Regions from separate parts of the Homo sapiens genome. Here region 2 is linked to region 1. Evidence: promoter capture Hi-C in 16 types of primary human blood cells and fetal thymus (Javierre and others, 2016). All regions are on one chromosome and are shown on one strand. Each heading gives the region's core, a stretch centred on a gene start or on the middle of the fragment in contact. The rest is flanking DNA. Distances are from core to core; before and after follow the strand shown.

Region 1 (3,540 bases), core at 516-3,015:
TCTATCTACATCTATTTGAGAAACACTAATATATTAAGTTATAATTGTGTTCTCTTTTTGCAAGTGTTTCAGGTTGTTTTGACGGAACTTCTTAAATTATCTGCTAATTTGTTTTGATGCCTTAACCAATATACGGAAGATATACATATTAATGTTCTGTAATTCCTCTTATTTTTACTAAGAGTATTAGATCCAAAATAATGATCAAGTTACCTTTAACTTCCAGAAAGTCTGCATTAATATTCAGAGTACTTGAAAATGTCCCCTAAGCCACACTTAGAGGTATATTTGTTTACACACTTAAATATAACATCATATGTAAATATTCTTTTGTGAGTATGTATTTGCATAGCCACACTTCTCACAGCAAGCCCTGTCCGGCACAATACAGACAAATGACTCAGGAATATAGATGTTCCTCTAACGTAACAAACCGTTCCGATGAAAATAGCCCAGAAATAGAATTTTAAATCGTAAGCGGGGTGGTGGGGGGGGTAGGCAGAGAGACCTTTACTCCTGGCGAGCGTCTCTTTTTTAGCTCTCCGTAATAAATGAAATTAGAGGGGGTACAAACTTAACGTCGATTTTTTTTTCAGACTCGAAGAGGGATAATCTCTTGTTTTTCAAATTAGTAAATAAACTCGGATGTTTCCCAAGATGCTAAAGAAGAAGTCCTGTAATTCACCATAGAGGGGTCCGAGTGCAGAGAGTAAGGGAGAAGGGTGGGAGTTCTGAGACCTCAGAGAGGAAACGAACGAAGTCGAGCTGTCCTTGACCGGGCGCTAAGGAAACACTTTAAAATGAGATCTGTCAGCTAACAGCTGCTGGGGAAACTTGTTAAATCGACTGGTCCCTTTTAGCGGGGTCTGTCCATAGAGGAGTCAGCTGGGCTCCAGGACACGAATAATAGAGCGAATAACACGGACCGAGGGGCGAGGAGCTTGGAGAAGACCCGGACTCAGCCTGCCTGCGAGCCGGGAAGCTCCTAAGAGAAGCTGCGCGGGTCGGAGAAGGTGCAGGCAACCCTGTCTCTGGGCAGGATGATGCTGGGCGGTGGAGCTACGGCCGGCAGGGGTGGGATTGTGAGGGAGAGGCGGGGATGCAGAATTGGGATGCGGGGTCAGGATGCGGGAATGGGATGCGGGGCCTGTAAACTGCTGGGCGGTTGATGCAGGGCAGGGACGAGGAAAAGCAATGCGAAGCTGAGCATTGCGAGGCACCCTGACTCGAAGCAAGGCTGTAGGGAAGGATGCAGTGTCGGGATACCTGACTGACTCTAAGAGCTGCGCACTTGTCAGTTTCCTCTTGGCCCCACCCCGCGGGGTCTATCCAGCTCCCCAGTGTTTAACTAAGTCGTGACACCAACGCAAAATCCACGCCTAATTAAATTAATTAGGGATTCTTGTCAATCCTGGATTAATGGCCAAGAGCACAGGCGGCAGGGGCTATCTGAAAACCTGAGCGGCCGGGGACCGGCCTTCTCTCCCCGCCCCCTCCGGTCCCCCTGTGCTGCCCTACCACTCCAGCCCCAGCCCGCCCGAACTCCAATCTCTCTCTCTCCTCTTCTCTCTCTCTCTCTCTCTCTCTCTCTCTCTCTCTCTCTCTCTCTCTCTGTTTCTCTCCTTTTCCCCTCCCCAACCCCCGGTAGAGGCGCGACTGCTACCCGGGAAGGGGGCTCACTCCGAGTTGCGAGGGGAGGTAATTTACTCAAAACAAGAGGCCGCCGTTAGGAAGTATAAATAGTGGGACTTCAAGCGCAGCGTCGCTATCAGATCTGAACTCTCCGCAGGAAGAATTGTCAAAGATCTTAACATTGAACAAGCGCGCTCCGGCAGGGAAGCATCAGTTCCCATTTCCCTCCGGCAGCCCCCGCCCCTTCTCTTCTCCTCCTCCTCCTCCCTCTCCTCTTCACCCTTCTCCCCCTCTTCCTCTTCTTCCTCCTCCTCCTCTTCTTACTTCTTTTTCTCCTTCTACTTCTCCTCCTCTTTCTTCTTTCTTCTCCTCTTTTTCTTCTTCTTTCTCCTCCTCCCTCTCCTCCCCCACCTCCTGTCCCATTGATGTGTTATTATTGGGGGGGCTGGAGCAGTAAAAAAAGAAGAAGGAAAAAAAGAGCGGGGCTCTGCTGGCAGAGGTTGAGCGCCGGGCTGACGTGCGGCGGCGATGGAAGAACTTACGGCGTTCGTCTCCAAGTCTTTTGACCAGAAAGTGAAGGAGAAGAAGGAGGCGATCACGTACCGGGAGGTGCTGGAGAGCGGGCCGCTGCGCGGGGCCAAGGAGCCGACCGGCTGCACCGAGGCGGGCCGCGACGACCGCAGCAGCCCGGCAGTCCGGGCGGCCGGCGGAGGCGGCGGCGGAGGAGGCGGAGGCGGCGGCGGAGGAGGCGGAGGAGGTGTAGGAGGAGGAGGAGCAGGCGGAGGAGCTGGAGGAGGGCGCTCTCCCGTCCGGGAGCTGGACATGGGCGCCGCCGAGAGAAGCAGGGAGCCGGGCAGCCCGCGACTGACGGAGGGTAACGACCTGACTGACCCCCGGCAGCGGTTCCCCTTCCCGCCTTCCGGACTCCTCTCGGGCGGGAGAGGACTCCGAGGCCCAGCGGGGAGGGGAGAGGGACACGGAGAGGGCCCTGGACCCCAGCTTTGTCAGCTAGAGTGATAGTGGAAGGGTGGGGGTCCGGTGGTATGCTCGGTCATGGGTGGGGTCCTAGTGTGTTGTGGGGGTGGCGTGGGGGGAAGCGTGTGGGGTTTGTGCGCGCCCTTCCCAGATGTTCCCATTCCACCGAAATGCATTTTTCACCAGCGGGAGGATGGGCCCGCAGCCCGGATGGCCCGCAGGCGGACGTGGAAGTTCGCGGGGCCGGGCTGCAGGAGGGGGTGCTGAACCAGACGGCGGGACTAAAGCTAGCCTCTAGCGCAGAGTTTGCCGGGAGGGAGAAGGGGCAGAGGTGGAAAGCTTAACCCTCCGGTCGCCTAGGTGTTTGGGGCCGCCAAGACCCCTCGAACTCCGCAGAGCCCCTGAATCTTTGGATCTTAGGGGCCAAAACTTCCCATTCTCTTTCAAGGTAGAAGGAAGCCAACGAAAGCTGAGGTCCAGGCTACGCTGCTTCTCCCGGGCGAGGCGTTTCGGTTTCTTGGTGTGTTGGGGGCGGGGGGGGGGGGCGGCGGGGGAGGTGGGGATCTATATTTACACAATTCCTTTAGTGTTTTCAATCACCCAGTACTCGGTTCTCTTAGAGCAAAAATCCTTTGGTGCTAGCTCAGTGTTAGGAAACGTCTTTATCTCAATGGCAGAGCGTTCTATACCAATTCAAAGGAGTTCAACAATAAAATTGATTTGGCACTTGGTGCCTGCAGTAACTGGTGTACTGCCATATTTTTCCAATTAAGAAAATATGTGGCATGCGTGGAATCACATATTTAAGCAAGCAATTAAGTTGTTTATGACACGGTCTGTTCCTGTTTAGATCAGTAATTGGAAATTTGGGGACAAAAATAGAGATTTTATTAAGTCTATGGATCAACTTGAAATTTGGACATCTCCTCGAAG
Region 2 (3,531 bases), core at 939-3,438, 2.3 Mb after region 1:
TATGGGACTCTGCTATATTTGCAATTTCCTGTGAATCTATAATTATTTCAAATTAAAGAAGGGGAAAAAATCAAACACAAGACATACAAACTCATCAAGTATTTCCTTTTTTTTTGGAAAAAAAAAAAACACCTACTGATTGTGAATGGCTTTATTGGCTGCTTCCTTTAACTCCCACAACTCTCTGAAATAGATGTTATGAACTCTATTTTAATTTTCATCAAAATGGAGGCTTAGGTTAAGTAATCTGTCCAAGGCACAACTACTGTTAGAGCCAGGGTTTGAATCCAGCACAATATAAATCCCACTCATGGTTGTTTTGGTTTAATCTTGATTGGACTTAAATGACACCGTTCTTTTCTTTAACACCCAGACTGGAGTGCAATGGCATGATCTCGGCTCACTGCAACCTCCGCCTCCCGGGTTCAAACGATTCTCCAGCCCCAGCCTCCCGAGTATCTGGGACTACAGGCATGAGCCACCACACCCAGCTGATTTTTGTATTTTTAGTAGAGACAGGGTTTCACCATATTGGCCAGGCTTGTCTTGAACCCCTGACCTCAAGTGATCTGCCCGCCTCAGCCTCTCAAAGTGTTGGGATTACAGGTGTGAGCCACCGCGCCCGGCCAACACTGTTCTTTTCTGCAATCTATTCTTCTACTTAACAAAGATTAGAGGACTTTACAGTTGCCTTTTTTTTTTTTTTCCAGACGGAGTCTCACTCTGTCGCCAGGTTGGATTGCAGTGGCACGATCCCGGTTCACTGCAACCTCCGCCTCCCAGGTTCAAGCGAGTCTCCTGTCTCAGCCTCCCAAGTAGCTGGGGCTACAGGCGCGCGCCACCAGGCCGAGCTAATTTTTTGTATTTTTAGTAGAGACGGGGTTTCACCGTGTTGGCCAGGATGGTCTCAATCTCTTGACCTCGTGATCCACCCGCCTCGGCCTCCCAAAGTTCTGGGATTATAGGCGTGAGCCACTGTGCCTAGCCTGCCATTACGTTTGTAATCCCAGCACTTTGGGAGGCCGAGGCAGGCGGATCACGAGGTCAGGAGTTCGAGACCAGCCTGGCCAACATAGTGAAACCCCGTCTCTACTAAAAATACAAAAATTAGCCGGGCGTGGTGGCGCGTGCCTGTAGTCCCAGCTACTCGGGAGGCTGAGGCAGGAGAATCGCTTGAACCCGGGAGGTGGAGGCTGCAGCGAGCCGAGATGGCCCTACTGAACACCAGCCCAGGCGACAGTGTGAGATTCCTCTCAAAAGAAAAAAAAATAATAATCTTTCTGCCAGAGGTGAGAGAGCAGAAAAAAAATTAATCAGATTCTCAAATTCCTGTACGTCTCTTAGTAGAGACGGGTTTCTCCTTGTTGGTCAGGCTGATCTTGAACTCCCAATCTCAGGTGATCCGCCCGCCTCGGCCTTCCAAAGTGCTGGGATTACAGGCGTGAGCCACCGCGCCCGGCCACAAGACGTTTTATTGCAACATAAAAACAGGATGTAACGAGTCTTCCAATCACCAATGTAATTAGAGTTGGTTACCAAGTTTCCCCACGCGTCTTCCACCATGAGGGAGAAACGGACTGCAGACAAACCTAGCACCCCTTGAGCAGTTTAATTCGTACTATAAATATGTAGGCACCGTAAGGACGCGATTCTCCAGTTTGCCAGGCCTTTTTCTATCCTTTTGGGGGCACAAGGCGACCTTGCCTCCTGATTCAAAAACTTCGTAAACGTCAATCCTTCTACCCTTTTCTGGTCAGCCCACGAAAGCAGCAGCATGGCACAACTCCCAGCCTAGAGTTCGGGCACTGCCTGTCGTCAGCATAACGAAGAAACCTACACCCACGAAGACTTCAGACCCCACGTGATTACATCACTCAACCACCAGCGCTGGCCTGGAGGAACCCGCTGTCACGTGACCGCTCGTGCCCAATGACCGAGGCCCACGCTTTCCAGACCGCCACAGTCGCTGTCACAGGGCCTGAGTTTGGGCGGCGCCCCGCCCCGGCCGCACGGTGCGCCGGCGTTAATCCTCCCCGAAGGTTCCGGCAGCCAAGATTGCAGGTTCCCACCAAGCATTGTTTCCGAACTGGGCCACGAGAGCGTGTCCCTGATTGGCTTGCTCTGGAGGCTGGGAAGGGACCTGTTAGAGACTGGGACCACTTCCTGAAGCGCGAGGCAGGAAGTTATATGCTTTTTCTGGAGTCCTGTAGAGAAAGTGCTCTCTGCCGCATTGATAGCAGCGAGAGCTGGAGGTGTTGGGTCGGGAGACCAGCCGTTCGATCCCGCCGCAGGTAGGAGCTGGTTTCCATCCTGGCACCACGGCACACACCTCCAGCCTCGAGCCCGGCGCTGCTGCCCGGGGGTCTCCTTCAGGCTCTTTGACGCCGTTCCAGGGGGCACCTATCCAGGCATCCTCTGGGCCTCTAGCCAGAGGACTGGCTCCCGGCTTCAGCACTCCGGGCTGCAGTAAGAAGTGCCCTTATCGCTCTGAGCCCTGCCACCATCCCGTGAACCACCGAAACCCTGGTCCAGCGCGACAGCCTTGGACCTGGGACTGGACGGATCCAAAACGCTCAGCCTCGGCCCCCCACAGACGGGGCTCTGCATCGTCTCTGATATGTCACCCACCATCTCCCACAAGGACAGCAGCCGGCAACGGCGGCCAGGGAATTTCAGTCACTCTCTGGATATGAAGAGCGGTCCCCTGCCGCCAGGCGGTTGGGATGACAGTCATTTGGACTCAGCGGGCCGGGAAGGGGACAGAGAAGCTCTTCTGGGGGATACCGGCACTGGCGACTTCTTAAAAGCCCCACAGAGCTTCCGGGCCGAACTAAGCAGCATTTTGCTACTACTCTTTCTTTACGTGCTTCAGGGTATTCCCCTGGGCTTGGCGGGAAGCATCCCACTCATTTTGCAAAGCAAAAATGTTAGCTATACAGACCAAGCTTTCTTCAGTTTTGTCTTTTGGCCCTTCAGTCTCAAATTACTCTGGGCCCCGTTGGTTGATGCGGTCTACGTTAAGAACTTCGGTCGTCGCAAATCTTGGCTTGTCCCGACACAGTATATACTAGGACTCTTCATGATCTATTTATCCACTCAGGTGGACCGTTTGCTTGGGAATACCGATGACAGAACACCCGACGTGATTGCTCTCACTGTGGCGTTCTTTTTGTTTGAATTCTTGGCCGCCACTCAGGACATTGCCGTCGATGGTTGGGCGTTAACTATGTTATCCAGGGAAAATGTGGGTTATGCTTCTACTTGCAATTCGGTGGGCCAAACAGCGGGTTACTTTTTGGGCAATGTTTTGTTTTTGGCCCTTGAATCTGCCGACTTTTGTAACAAATATTTGCGGTTTCAGCCTCAACCCAGAGGAATCGTTACTCTTTCAGGTAGTGTATTTAAGCTATTATGGTGTTAGGTTTATTTATCCTTTTGAAAGAGTGTGTGACGTTGGAGGGAAGCTCATTAATTTACTGGAAATCATTGTATGGGAGATAACTCAAGGTAAGTTTTCTGTTTCGTCCAAAT

What was found. The method cuts DNA at HindIII sites, captures the fragments that hold promoters and counts their contacts. A CHiCAGO score of 5 or more calls a contact.
Region 2: the fragment with the promoter of SLC33A1 here is called in contact with the fragment with the promoter of SHOX2 in region 1 in 1 of 17 cell types (non-activated CD4 T cells); the score reaches 5.4 in non-activated CD4 T cells.

What each region holds. Positions count from the first base shown.
Region 1 is chr3:158,104,645-158,108,184 of GRCh38, reverse strand. It overlaps SHOX2 (SHOX homeobox 2), which reads left to right and starts at 1,765. Exons shown (of 5, transcript NM_001163678.2): 1 at 1,765-2,506. The coding sequence starts at 2,161. RefSeq lists an enhancer at 1,074-1,577 and a silencer at 2,326-2,375. The HindIII fragment of the contact is 5,227 bases long and covers 1-2,948 here.
Region 2 is chr3:155,853,084-155,856,614 of GRCh38, reverse strand. It overlaps SLC33A1 (solute carrier family 33 member 1), which reads left to right and starts at 2,188. Exons shown (of 6, transcript NM_004733.4): 1 at 2,188-3,392. The coding sequence starts at 2,618. LOC105374174 (a long non-coding RNA gene) reads right to left here and starts at 1,862. Exons shown (of 3, transcript XR_924607.4): 1 at 1,537-1,862. RefSeq lists enhancers at 1,601-2,160, 2,531-2,600. The HindIII fragment of the contact is 4,607 bases long and covers 1-2,947 here.